Regions from separate parts of the Homo sapiens genome. Here region 2 is linked to region 1. Evidence: promoter capture Hi-C in 16 types of primary human blood cells and fetal thymus (Javierre and others, 2016). All regions are on one chromosome and are shown on one strand. The core of a region is centred on a gene start or on the middle of the fragment in contact, and the rest is flanking DNA. Distances in the headings are between cores, read along the strand shown.

Region 1 (6,888 bases), core at 3,065-5,564:
GGCCTCCCAAAGTGCTGGGATTACAGGTATGAGCCACTGCGCCTGGCTGGTAACAAATTCTTGAGTAACAGCTTCTCTAAAACCAATAGTACTGAGCTAAGCATTTTACATGGATTAGCTTACCTAAGCCTCCCAACCACCCTATGAAGCCAGTACTTTCACTATCACCTCTCACATGAAGAAACTAAAACTCAGGTCATATTACTTGCTCCTGCAAATGCAGCTAGTAAGTGGCAAAGCTGGAACTTGGTCCAAGGTCTACCTGACCCTAAAATCTGCTTCTTACCCTGCTAGGGGCCATGTCTCTTCTCCTGTTAGAGTATAAATGGCAAACAGGTTTCTCCTCTTATGCCAACTCTGATTGACAGGCAGTAGCTGCTTGGGGCTCCAAGTTGAAAGTACATGTGTTGTCAATGGCTACTGATGTCTGTTGTGTGTATGGGAAGGGAGAATGGTGGCAAAGATGGCCCTGACTTGCCATCTCTGCAAGGGAGAGATGTCAGCTTTCTGAAGGCAGGGATGATACCCAACCCAGATTCATTTCAGCCCTAAAAGCTGGTCTAGCTCCATCCAGGCATGTCCATCTTCACCCTGCCTGGCTCACCTCTGCTTTATTGGTTTTTCTCCCATTCCTCCCAACTCCTTGCCCCGTGGAGAAGGCTGCTTCCATTAGTTTTATTCATATGTTAAATCAGGGACACTGTGCTTGCATCTAGAGCTGACAATTCTGAATACCTGGGCACGCCCCCTTTTCTAGCCCAGACTGACGCAGAGCTTTGAGCAGCTGCAGCTGTAGTGCAGCCAGGAAGCAAACGCAGGCCTGAGGCCCAGTCCTGGCCCTCCCAGCACCTCCCTAAGCTACCTTCCCCACCTGCCCATCCTCCCTCCTGGGGTATGAATTCTCAAGGGGATGACTCATGTCCTAAGTACCTTCCTAAGTCAATATACAACCAGATTTGATCATCATCACAGGTGGGCTTGGGGTTCATGGTCAAGGGCAGATGCCAGGAGTAAGAGATGGAAGGACAGAAGGAAGAAATGAAGGCAGCAGAGGAGAGAAGACCTGGGGAGGTTGGGGGCTACCCGAAATGTTAGGAAAACTCACCATGCTGTATGTCCTTCCATAGGACCCAGTATTTGGAATTATCTTCGAAAGTCACGAGGCAGCTTTGCTTAGAGCTGCTGACCTGGGGTACAGATAGGAAGGAGCAAGTGAGAAAGGGCTGGGGAAAAGCCAACCTGGAACATAGTCTTCCTCCCCCATTTTTGTCTCCGTATGTTCCAGAAAGCAGGGCTAGAAGGGGAAGAAGGATGGCAGTTCCTGGACAGGGTGTACTCCTAGTCACCTGGAGTCGTACAGCCAGGGACCGATGGATGGCAACTTGGTCAGAATGTTGAGGACAGAAGCACAAGTCAGATGCTCCTCTGTGATCCTCTCAAACCTGACTTTTTTGTTTTGTAGGCTCTCAGAGCACTTTTCTAAAGAACTAGTTGGATGATGTTGACCCTAGGGATGGTGCCTGCAAGACCAGGCTCTGGCCCCTCCCACCACCAGCTTTGGGCATGAGGGACAAGAAGGGAATTCTCCAGCAATCCCCCTGCCCCCTGGTCTGACAGCCAGGCTGGAACATGAGCAGAGAGATTCTGAGTCTGAGAACAGGGGCCAGAGAGGATGGGTTTACCCTCTTGATCTTCCCGAGGTAGTACAGGCCATCTGTCCACCGGCACAGCACATACTGGCCCTCCGTCAGTTTGGACATCAAGTCTTTGAAGTTGTTCTTGACCTTCGCCAGGGCCCCCTTGTTGGGGAGGTGGCTGGTGGCACCATAGGAGTCCCGAGTCCCTGGATCCAGAGCTCGATTCTCCATCAGCTTCCCCTGACACTGGGAGAGAAAGAACAGGGTTTTTGCTTCTTGCTTCCCTGCTTCAGAAAGCCCATCAGGGGAAGGAAGGAAACCACCATTTCTGTACCCTGTGCTATAAGCCAGACTTGGTTATTATCTCACTGATTCCTCGTGACCATCCTATGAGGGAGACATTATTATTATTCACATCTTACAGATAGGGAAACAGGTGTGGCAAGGAGAAGAGGCTGATGGGCCAAAGGCAGAGCCATGGCCCATACCACACTACCTTTTAAAGAGAATGGATCTCTCAACCCACACAGAACAAAGTCCCCTACCCAGCGGGCCTGAACCACTCCCTGTCTCAGGAGGCTGAGGTTTTATTCCTTAAGCAAACACAGTCCATGTGCTCTGGATGGAGGATCTTCTCCAGGCAAGCAGTTGGGTTTTGTTTTTACCCCCAACCCCTGCAACCATCCCTAACCTGAGATCTGTCCAGAGAAAATTCACCTAGAAAGGAAAACTGGGTGGCTTGTAGCTAGTGTAGACTGGGTCATCTGTCTTTTGTAATCCCCCCTTCTGTTCTCAATTATGAGATGATTTAATGGAAACCAATTCTGGGACATTTAAACCCACTTATGCTTTCACCCAGATACACATTTGCTCCAAGCAGTGAAGTCATCCATCCCCATGCCAGCCTCTCCACGCCTGTCTCTCACCATCCTATTCAACGTGCAGTTCACCCATCGATTTCTCTCTCCCTGCCTGTGGTACTGCCTTCATGCATCTCAAACTCCTCCAAGCAATTAGTTGCCACAGCCGGCCCATTTTAAGTGCCATGATTTCTGGCTTTCCAGCTCTAGCTTCCATCCTCCTGCCCTGGTCTCAGTTCAGGCCTCATCTTTTGCTTGGGCCATTCATTCATTCATTCATTCACCCAATAACAGTTTCCTGGGCCTTGTGCTTACCTCCACTAGGCACCTAGGGTGGGGAACGGTACTACCAGCACCCAGTGCTAAACAGGCCGTTCCTGCATTCCTGCCTCTCCACCAGACTCTTCCGCAGGGCCACCAATTTCCTTCCAGAAACTTTCTGGGGCTCCCCACTGCCCTCACTGGTGCTCAAAGCCGTCCCTAACGCCCCCTCCTTTCTGCTGGGCTCACCTGGCTCCAAGTCCCTCCACATGCTCTCCACTACAGCCACACACAGCCTCTCTCTTTCCCCGCGGGCCTACTCGGGTCTCCTCCTTGTGGCCATGGCGCTGGGCACCTGGTGTTGTGACTATCTGTTCACAGGGAGAGAGTCCAGTGCCTGTTTCTGTGTGGTGCGTGTGTGTACTCCTGTGAGACTGGGCAGGATGATGTCTACGGCATTGTGCCAGGGAGTGTGTGAAGCTAAGTATGTGCGGGGCCCTGGGGCGAGCCAGGCACTGCAGGGGTCTCGGCTCCCCAGATGGTGGCGTGGCCACGACCTTCTCCACCCCCACTCCCATCTCCTTTTTCTCCAGCGCAGAGCGCACAGGCTCCCGGGCAGGGGATGCGGTCTGAATCCCTGTCCTCTCCCTGCCACCTGGCTCGCCCGGCGCTGCGAGGTCCCCGCCCGCCCGGCCAGGGGCCAGGCCGGGGCCGCTGCAGGTTCACAAACTGACACTTCCTCTCCCGCTGCGCCTCTAGGAGCCGGCCGGGTCGCCGCACCCGCCTCCACCCTGGCCGGGCGGGGGCCCCCGGGTGGCGCCCCCCCAGCCCCCGCCTCCGTCCTCCCGGAGCGGGCCCCCGCGGGCTGTGATTGGCTGATTCAAACCCATTTGCAAAGAAATGCCTGTTTGCGGGTTCCCGTCTGCGTCCAGTTCAAATCCGCGGCACCGGGAGCGCGGGGCCGGGCGGGGGCAGGAAGCGAGGATGATTCATGCGCCGGGGCCTCTCCCAGGGCGGCCGTTGGCTTTTTAAAAAGGATGTTCAGGAGGGGGGAAAAAGCTTGCAGAAGCACCCCCTTCGGGTTCAGCGCTCCTCTCCTCAGTCGCTCGGACGCCAAGCCTCCCCCATCCCAACCCTGCCGCAGCCTGACTTCGGACGTGAGCGAAATGCCAAACGCCCGTCTGTCCTTCCCCCACCCCGATAGGAAAATTAAAGATCGGGGGCGAGGAAGAACGACCTGTCACCCATGCCCCCCGGGGCTCGGGAACCCGGGTGGGGCCCCTCTGCCCCGCAGGTAACCTGCACCCCCGGTCCCCACCCCCGAGAGCCCCGCTCCGCAGGAGTCTCACCCCCCGGAGGCGTTCGGGCCGCCAAAGTTCAGGGAGATTTCGAAAAGAGAGGGATGAGGGCCGGGAGGGGAGAGCGTGGCGGGGAGTCCGCCCAACAGCGCAGAACTCACCGCGAGGCTGCGTGTCCGCCGGTCCCACTTGGAGTCTGGCCACCAGGCGCATCGGTGGCGGAGGCGGCTGCGCTCGGCCCGCGGCTGCCCGGCCGAGTGTCCGCCCGTGGGGCCGGGGTCGGGGTCTCGGCGGGGGCGGGGCGGGGCGGGGGCGCCGCGGGGAGGAGGGGGAGGCGGCGGAGGGAGGGGCCGGGGCGCTCAGGAAGGGGCCCCCCGGGCGCGGGGCGCCATCTTTTTCGCGTTTTCCCGCGAATTATTGACGTCCCGCTTATGTAATTAGCGGGGGCCGCGCCGGCCTCGCCATTGGAGCCCGCGGCCGCCGGGCTCCGCAGCGCCGCCAGCCCCCGCCCGCCCCCGCCCGCCCCGCGGGCGCGCATCCTCCGCGGCCACTAGCCAGGACCCGGGCCCCCCGCCGAGGAGCGGCCACACCGCGGCGCACACGGAGACGCCAGGCAGCGCTCATGGCGCACACGACCGCTCGCACACTTGTTGAGGAAACACAGCTCTGCGCGCAGGCACCGGCGGACCCTGGCACAGACACACAGCAGGGCGGCGCGGACCCTTGGCGCAGACACAGACCCAGGACGCCCAAACAGGCCACACAACACCTTGCACTAACAGCACAGGCGTTCGGCACAGAGACACAGCACAAGTATAATGTAGATACACAACACACAGTGCACAACGCATGTTGTTCCGACACAGGTCAGAACACACCACAGCATGTACAGGACACAAACACACCACAAAGAGAAGTACTGTACACACCAGCCATAGGCATAGATACACAAGGGGGAACACACTGTACACAACAGAGACACACAACAGAACATGCATGTAAGGTAGACGGACATAACACATAAAGTCACAACACAGACGGGCAAGAGACACAAGTTTTCCTGAAAAAGTGGCATTCAGATAGGTTGTGGAAATAGGTTAGTGGGTGTGCCAGGTGGAGGGAATTCAGTGGGCTAACAATGCAATTTTTAAAATACGGGTTAAGGATATCAAAAGGCAATTCACAAAAGAGGAAACCTACATGGCCGAAATAGCCCCAAACAACAAATTGCGTAGAGACACAGTGCACAGAAATACATGGTACAATCGCAAATATATACCACACGCACAACATGTCATGTAAATAAAGGGCACACAATGAAAGACAACATGCACAGAGTCATAGGAATGGCAGATGGAGTCAGTGGGCAGAGCTCCAATCATAGGGACCCTGCCCTGTGGGGGAAAGGCAGACATGGCCCCACCCAGACTCACTCTTGGGGGAAGGGAGGAAGAACACTTACCAATAACCCCACCCCCATCCTTGCCCTCAGTCCACAGCGCCCACCTCTGTGGCTACCATCCCACTCTGCAGACACCCCCACCAGACAGGGATATGTGCTTTCATGGGTGTGGCCAGTGGACAGCACCTTCCCCCAGAGCCTTCCCTGTTCACTGTCAGTTGCTCACTCTGGGCCCTCTGCCTCCTGGCCTTGGAGCATGATCTGTGCAGCCCCCCACCTCACCTTCTCAGCAGAGATCCAGGAGTCCTTTCACCTCCTTCCTCACTTCCTTCTGCCCCTTGATCCCCCTGCTCTCACCTGCCTCACTGCCCCATTCTGGATCCTGGCGCCTCAGCAGAACCTAGCACTGCTGAGTACCTGCCTGAACCTGGAAGGAAAGCCTGGGAGCAGCCCCATGGCACAAAATCTCCCAATCCTGGAGAGCACATTTTCAAGTCCCAAAGGGGCCCTAGGATTGTGCTACTTAACCATGTTCTGCCAAGAGAAGGTGTGTCCAACGCGGGTAGGGCTGATGATGGGAGCAGAACACTCCCACTAGCTTCTAAGCTGGCTGGGTCTGCCTTCAGGATGCTGGGGGACAGAGATGATAGAGCGAAGTGCTCACCTCTGAGGCTACAGGCCAGCTCCACCCATTACTGGCCATGGGAGCCTGAGTGTGTCACTTCTTTCTTTCTTTTTTTTTTAAACAATTCTTGCTCCAGAGACTTTAAGTCTTAAGCCTCCGTGTCCTCACCTAAATAGAGTTATTGGGAAGGTTAGAGTTAATGTATGCAAAGCCCCTGGTGCCCAGTAGGTGTGCAGTAAGTGATCATTGTATTAATACTTTGTTAAGAAATTCTGTATTCAGAATCTTGATTGCCCCACTGTGTGGGACTAGAGCGGGGGGATGTGAGACACACAGGTGGATGGGAGACACACAGGTGGATGAGAGACAAGGAACTGGCAACCTCGTGGAGGAGGCGGTGTTGATGCATAGATAAATAAGAGGGGATTGTGCTGTGAGCTGCACGTGGAATTGAATTGTCCTGGCTTCAAGTCCAGCTCTGCCTCTGAGCCAGGGCGGGGTCTTGGGTTAGCTAGACCCTCCTACACCATGTTTCTTTATCGGTTGAAAAGAGGGTAATAATACTACCCATCTCGTGGGGCTGTTGCATAAATGTTCAAATAAGACAATGAAGGAGCAGGTGCTTTTGTAAACTAAAAAGTTTGATATGCAAAATAAGAAGTTAAAACACTACAGAACAGGAAATTATAAATGCCACAAGAAAGGTACGGTGTCACCAGTGATTATTTAGAGGCAACTCTAAATTCGAATTGAGGAAAGAGAACAAGTTTCCCGGAAAAAGTAGCAATCAGTTAGGTTGTGGAAA
Region 2 (6,888 bases), core at 3,468-5,967, 100 kb after region 1:
AAACTCCAGCTGACTCAGTAAGACTGGTTAAGAGCCCCATTGTGGAGGTGGAAGAAAGGTCTCTCCCTCCTCAATAAAGATGCTGTTAGCAGGGACAGGAAGGAAGTGTGGCCTCAGATCTGGGTCCTCTATATATTCTGCAAATGTAACCTCAGGCAAGTCACTGTTTGCAGAATTCATCTGAGTCTTTGAACAATTATCTCTTCCTCATCCTTTAGTCTGACCTTAAGTATCTCCACAACAAGGCCATAAACTCCCCTTTCCCGTTATTCTCTGTTTTAAGGTTCCCTTTTTGCCCTTTCTAGCATTCATCTCAATTTGTAATGCTTTTATTTATAGTTTATTGTTGGCCTACCCCACTGCAATATAAGATTTGTGAGGCAAGTAGGTAATATATTTTTCTTGGTGCCTGCTGTGGTTTGAATGTGTCCCCCAAAGTTCATGTGTTGGAAAGCTTGGTCCCCAATGTGGCAGTGTTAGGAGGTGAGGCCTAATGGGAGGTGTTTGGGTCATGGGGCGTACCACTTTCATAAATGGATTAATGCTGCTTATTATAGAAGTGAATTTGTTATAAAAAGATGAGTTTATACTCCACTCCCACCAACCCTCCACTCTGCCTTCTCTTTGCCCTTCCACCATGGAATAATGCAACAAGAATGCCTTCACCAGGTGCAGCCCCCCTGATCTTGGACTTCCTAGGACCCAGAACCATGAGGTAATAAATTTCTGTCCATTGTAAATTATCCAGTGTGTCGTTTTTTCTGTTACAGCAACACACAATGGACTAAGGCAATGTCCATTGCATTTAGCAGGTACATAAATATTTGTTGAAGGAATAAATGAATAAACTTTATCTTTCTGGACCTCATCTTTCTCATCTATAAAACTGAGAAACATGACTAGATCAGAGATGTTAAACAATGTGGCCATTCCCTCTGCCTATATCTGTGGCGGCAAATGCTAATCAATAGGGCAGTCTTTTCTGCTAACCCTATAATTGTACCCAAAATAAAACACATTACATGGTCAGTAAATTAATACTGAAGGCCCTCTCTACATCTAAATTACATATATATAAATATACACACTCCATCATTATCTAAACATCCAGGCAACAGGGAAGATATTAACATTCGATCTAAACTTTGAATATAAACATGTATTATACGACTACATAATAATTAGTTGTAATAAAAATACATACTCAAATGAGTTTACATTAAATAGCTAGATAGATTAACATGTAACAATCAGTATTTCTCCCACTTTTTATTTATTTCGTTGTGGAGAAGGAGCATCAGTACCTTTGTCTACATGGCAACCACTATTTATTACATAGGATATGATATAATTGCCAATAACCTTACTAGCCTTTCATGGTGATTTAGAATCATGAAGGAAGTACTGGGCTTAAAGTCAGGAGACATGAGTTCTGATTCTGGCTCTGCCATGAATTCCCTGAGTAAAACTCCCTGGGCTAATTTCCTCTTCTGTATAATAAGAGTGTTGACGCAGATAACCTGTAGGGGTCCTTCAATTCTAGGCATTATTCATATCTATTGCATGCTCATTTGGTGGACAAAGGCATGGAGGCCAGATGAGTGTGGTGGGGGAGAAAATAAAAATGTCTACAGGGAGATGAAACAAGACAAAGAAATGTTACCTGGGTTGAATAAAAGCCACCTCCATACCTCTGCTCTTCTGATAGCCATTTGATGACTGGGTTAACATAATTTATATCTTTCAAGTTCAGACTGGTGAGTAAAGCATAGGCAGTTGTTTCTACCATACGTGCCGTACCAGTGTTAGGTACAGAGCTGTCTTTATGCTGAAGATTGTCTTTCCAAAAACGATAAATGGGTGGATTACCTGAACATCAACAAATTCCATTCATTAATATGATTAAAAATGTGAATTTGACATAATAATTCTACCAGGTGTATTATGGCCTTCCAGTTTCTAGAAGCTACTTACTTTTTCTTGTTAGAGGAACTTCCTGAAGATGACCAATGCAAAACGAGATCCCTTAATATGGTATTACTTGTCTTTACACATTGAGCATCCCTAATCTGAAAATCTGAAATATGAAATGCCCCCAAAATCTGAAAGTTTTTGAGCTCTGACATGATGCCACAGGTGGGTAATTTCACCCCTGACCTCATGTGATGGGTCACAATCAAAATGCAGTCAAAACTTTGTTTCATGCACAAAATTATTGAAAATAGTGTGTAAAATTACTTTCAAGCTGTGTGTAAAGTATATATGAAACATAAATGAATTTCATGTTTAGACTTGAGTCCCATCCCCAAGATATATCATTATGTATATGTAAATATTCCAAAATCTGAAAAAAATCTGAAATCTGAAATACTTCTGGTCCCAAGCAGTTCAGATCAGGAACACTCAACCTATTTTTTGTTTTTTTTGTTTGTGTGTTTTGAGACAGGATCTTGCTGGCACCCAGGCTGGAGTGCAGTGGTGTGATTGTAGCTCACTGCAGCCTCAATCTCTTGGGCTCAGTGATTCTCCCACCTCAGCTTCCTGAGTGGCTGGGACTATAGGGGTGTGCCACCATGCCAGGTTATGTTATCCAGCCTGGTCTCAAACTACTGGGCTCAAGCAATCCTCCTACCTTGGCCTTCCAAAGTACTGGGATTACAGGCATAAGCCACTGCACCCGGCCTCAATCTGTATTTTAAAATCAACATAGTACACATGTACTAGGAAGGGGCAGTTTAGTAGAGTCGAAAGTGCAATAAACTGGTATTGCACCCAGCTTCTAGTCTTTCTTTTGTTGCTAACTTACCATGTCACTTTGGGCAAATTCCTTTAGTTCTGTGTGACTCAATTTCCTAATACCTATAGTATAGATAATACTTTCTTCCATGCAGTGAAACTCAAATGAAATACTAAAGTAAAAGATTTTGTAAACTAGAAAGCACCATGCATATATAAGGGATTATTATTATTATTATTATTACTGACACTAAAAAATAAACTGGAGAACCTTTTTCCTGATAGGAAAATTTACATCCTGGAAATTATGAGATTAAACCTAAAGCCTTAGTTCAGTCTTTCATTATTTCTTTCCAATTTAAAGCACTCAAGACAATTTCGTACATGCAGCACTTTTCATAAATTAGGCTGTAAATTATATTTGTTATTTAAACCTGTAAACCTCAAATCCTTTTTGGAACAAACTATTTGTTTTAAAAAAAGTAATGCATATTTGGAAATCATATTTGAAGGTTAGTAAAAATTTTGATGTGTATGTTTATAATTCATAACTACATTATTTGCATGACCTTGAAAATGATATTGACCCTTCCTCTCAGAGTCTCAGATTTGCTGTATTTAAAATGAAGAGTTGAGTTTAGGATTTTAAAGAAACCCAACTGGAACAACTCTTGGATTATTAAGTTCCCTTCTAGATCTTAAATTTTATGATTTTATGACCCATATCTCACAATACCCAAGACATTTCTTTTGTGTTATTTTTGAAGTATCGTACAAGTGGTTTTGAGGCATATGTTAAAATATAGTAATTTTAAAATGATGGCACAAATCATATTTTGTAGATGGTCATAAACCTCAGTAAGATTTATAAAGCCTTAGCTAGAAGAGGACTCCAAAGTGCCCAACCATGCTAATAATCACTGCTACTCTCTTTCTATTTTTTGTCTCTTGACCTATAGGAAGCAGTATCTTTATTCTTCAAAACCAAACACATACTTTTATAGCAAACCTGGTAAAATATAAGCCAGGTCATGCACTCCTTTGCTCAAAATCCCCCAGTGGCTCCCCTTTTCACTCTCAAAGCTGAAATTAAAGTTCTAGGGCTCCTTCTGGTCCCCACAGCACATTGCTGTGGATAAGACATGGGCACTCCTTGCTCTAGGTGGAAGCAGCCCTAAACTAGGGTATGTGGCCGGGGGAGTGGAGCACAGGCTAGATTTCAGCCTCGATTCACTTGATTGCTTAGGTACTTTGTCCACGGCACAACTGTTTACAGAAGCCCTGAAGAGTCTCTCTAATGCCTTAAATGACCTTCCCTTGCTCCCTCACTTTTTCCTTACCTGACCTCACTTCCTACTCCTCTTCTCACTCCTCTGCAGTCACACTGGCCTCCTTGCCATTCTTGGAGCACCAGGCATGCCCATGCCTCAGGGCATTTGCACGTGCTGTTCTCCACCAGGTACTTCCTTCTAGATAGCCACAGGAATTGCTTCTTCACCTCCTTTCAGCTCTTGACTCAAACACCATCCTCTTAGTGAAACTTAAGCCCAGTCAGCTTGTCTAAAATTACAATGCATCCTCTCACCTTATTTTCTTTCCCTGCTCTATTTTTCTTCATATCAGCCATCACCATCTATTCATAAAGCTTTATTTATTTATCATGTTTGTGTCTCCCCAGTTAGAATTTAAGTTTCATGATGGCCTGGATTTTGGGGAGCCTGTTTTGTTTATTCCTTTATTCCCAGAGACTGGAATAGTGCCAGGTATATAGGGGGTGTCCAGGGTGTACATAGGATACTCAATGCATATTTATTGAATAAAGGAATAAATAGAGGACAGGTGTGGTGGCTCATGCCTGTGATCCTAGCACTTTGGAAGGCTGAGGCAGTAGGAGTGCTTGAGCCCAGGCATTTGAGATCATCCGGGGAAACACAGTGAGACTCGTATCTGCAAAATATAAAAAAAAGTAACTGGGTTCAGTGGTGGGCACCTGTAGTCCCAGCTACTGAGGTGGGAAGATCACTTGAGCCCAGGAGATCGAGGCTGCAGTGAGCCACGATCATGCCACTGCACTCCAGCCTGGGTGACAGAGCGAGAACCTGTCTTAAAAAAAAGAATAAATATTTGCTGAATGAATGCATGAATAAATGAATGAATAACGGCACACATTACATCGTATTGTGACGGTTTGTTCCTTGAGGACAGGAATTGCATCTTACTCAAGTTCACATGTCACCACCCACTTCCCAGACTAGCAGACTTTATGTCTTAGTGAACACTCACTGAATACATGTATGGAACAAGTTATACCTTTAACCAAAGCTTCTCTCTTCAAAGCTGAAACAATTGAACGAAACTGTGGGTGAGTTTTATCTCCCAGGGAAAGAGCATACGCAGAAATGGCCAATGTAAAGGTGCTCTGGGCTGGCAGTGTATTTTCAAGCAGAAAGTTGTCAGCTTTAATTAGAGCTGTGTCGATTTTCTGGAAACAAGAGAAGATACTTCAGTTTCTATGTCAAGCAACCACCTATCAATTGATATGAACTACCCTCAGATCCCACTATCCTGGAGCAAGCAATATGGGGGTGAAAAGAGGACTGACCTAATGGAAATGGATGGCTTCTCAGTGAAGCAAATCCCTCCGAGAGAAGGAGCAGAGCATAATCTTGGAAGGGACAATGAGGTTGTCCAAATCAGGTTAAGCTTTTTGCCTCTGAATTCTCACTTTCCTTTTAGAGGTTTTGTGCCTTTAGTTTCTGAGTACACCGTCAGACCTAGCCTCCAGGAAGAAAAGGCACCGAGCATAGACACAATTTCTTTTTTTTTCTTTTTTTTTGAGACGGAGTCTCGCTCTGTCGCCCAGGCTGGAGTGCAGTGCTGCGATCTCGGCTCACTGCAAGCTCCGCCTCCCAGGTTCACGCCATTCTCCTGCCTCAGCCTCCGGAGTAGCTGGGACTACAGGCGCCCCGCCACCACGCCCGGCTAATTTTTTTTTTTTGTATTTTTGGTAGAGACGGGGTTTCACCGTGTTCGCCAGGATGGTCTCAATCTCCTGACCTTGTGATCCGCCCGCCTCGGCCTCCCAAGTGCTGGGATTACAGGCGTGAGCCACTGCACCCGGCCCATAGACACAACTTTTATTGTTCCCTCTCAGCGTAGTTGCAACAGGCACACAGGTTCAAAAGGAGTTACACTTAAAAAAATAAATAAATAAAACAATAAGTAGCAGAAAGAAACCCTAACTGCCACAGTACTTTTAGATCCTAAGAATGCCTGGGTAAATAGTCCCGATCACTAGTCCTGACGCCACCAAAATGGTTGTGTTGGGCAAGTGGGCCAGCAGAAAGCCTGCTGCGATGCTGCTAACATCCTGCCTGCCTCCTCTCCCAGCTCCACATGCATCTCTCACCCATGTGGCCACTAGGTGCCTGGGAACTAGTCTTCATTGATTATTTTGTCTTGTTAAGCTTCTGAAACAAACTGAAAACAAATGGTTTTGTTTTGTGCTTCCAGTTTTGCAAATCCACTTGAGATTTTCCATCTCAACCTTGGAAATCTTCTATGTTGATTTACTTAGGTGGCTCATCACTTTTCTCCCGTTTCCAAGCAAATGTTGTTTGGAAGGATTTGGAGGATACACATTTGCTGTTGTGTATCCTCAGTACTTGCATGATACAGAATGCTTTCACTATAGGATAACAGTAACATATAAAGCAGGATTTAGCAAAGATAAGACAGAGAAGCTGGGGGCACTGGATCATTCTTCCATCCCAGTCCCAGCTATCAGTTTTAGACCCAGCTCTACAATTTATTAGCCTGTGACACTGGGAAACTGAATTCACCTTACTTAGTCCTCAGCTTTCTCAACTGCCGATGAGTAGGTTGGACTAGGTGGTCTCTAATATCTATCATTGTTCTGAAATCTTTCAATTCTGGAGTTTAAGTTATTTTCAAGTTATTGGAAAGAAGGAAAAGAAGCTTTTGAAACAAAAGGTCTTCTGATTGGTGGCCCCTCCAGTATATAGTACAGAAATAGATGATGGGTGTGAGAGAAAGAAAACTCTTACTTACCACCAGGGGGCATATATCGAAAGCCTTTCTAATTCCAATCACAGTAAAGGCTGTAAGATATAAGCTGTTCTCTCGGGCTTC

The links. Contacts are between HindIII fragments. The CHiCAGO score rates a contact against its expected background, and 5 or more counts as called.
Region 2: a contact is called between a fragment that was not itself captured here and the fragment with the promoter of PHF19 in region 1, in 3 of 17 cell types (naive B cells, total B cells and naive CD4 T cells). The highest score is 6.6, in naive B cells.

What each region holds. Positions count from the first base shown.
Region 1 is chr9:120,872,874-120,879,761 of GRCh38, forward strand. PHF19 (PHD finger protein 19) reads right to left here and starts at 4,315. Exons shown (of 15, transcript NM_015651.3): 1 at 4,218-4,315; 2 at 1,683-1,883; 3 at 1,106-1,187. The coding sequence starts at 1,868. RefSeq lists enhancers at 92-715, 716-1,341, 3,152-3,743, 4,755-4,804, 5,065-5,114 and silencers at 3,335-3,784, 4,065-4,114, 4,355-4,634. The HindIII fragment of the contact is 7,264 bases long and covers 3,816-6,888 here.
Region 2 is chr9:120,975,037-120,981,924 of GRCh38, forward strand. C5 (complement C5) reads right to left here. Exons shown (of 41, transcript NM_001735.3): 27 at 6,808-6,888; 28 at 5,047-5,218; 29 at 1,664-1,869. Among named protein-coding and RNA genes, the nearest start is that of C5-OT1, 26 kb to the left of the region's middle. The HindIII fragment of the contact is 677 bases long and covers 4,380-5,056 here.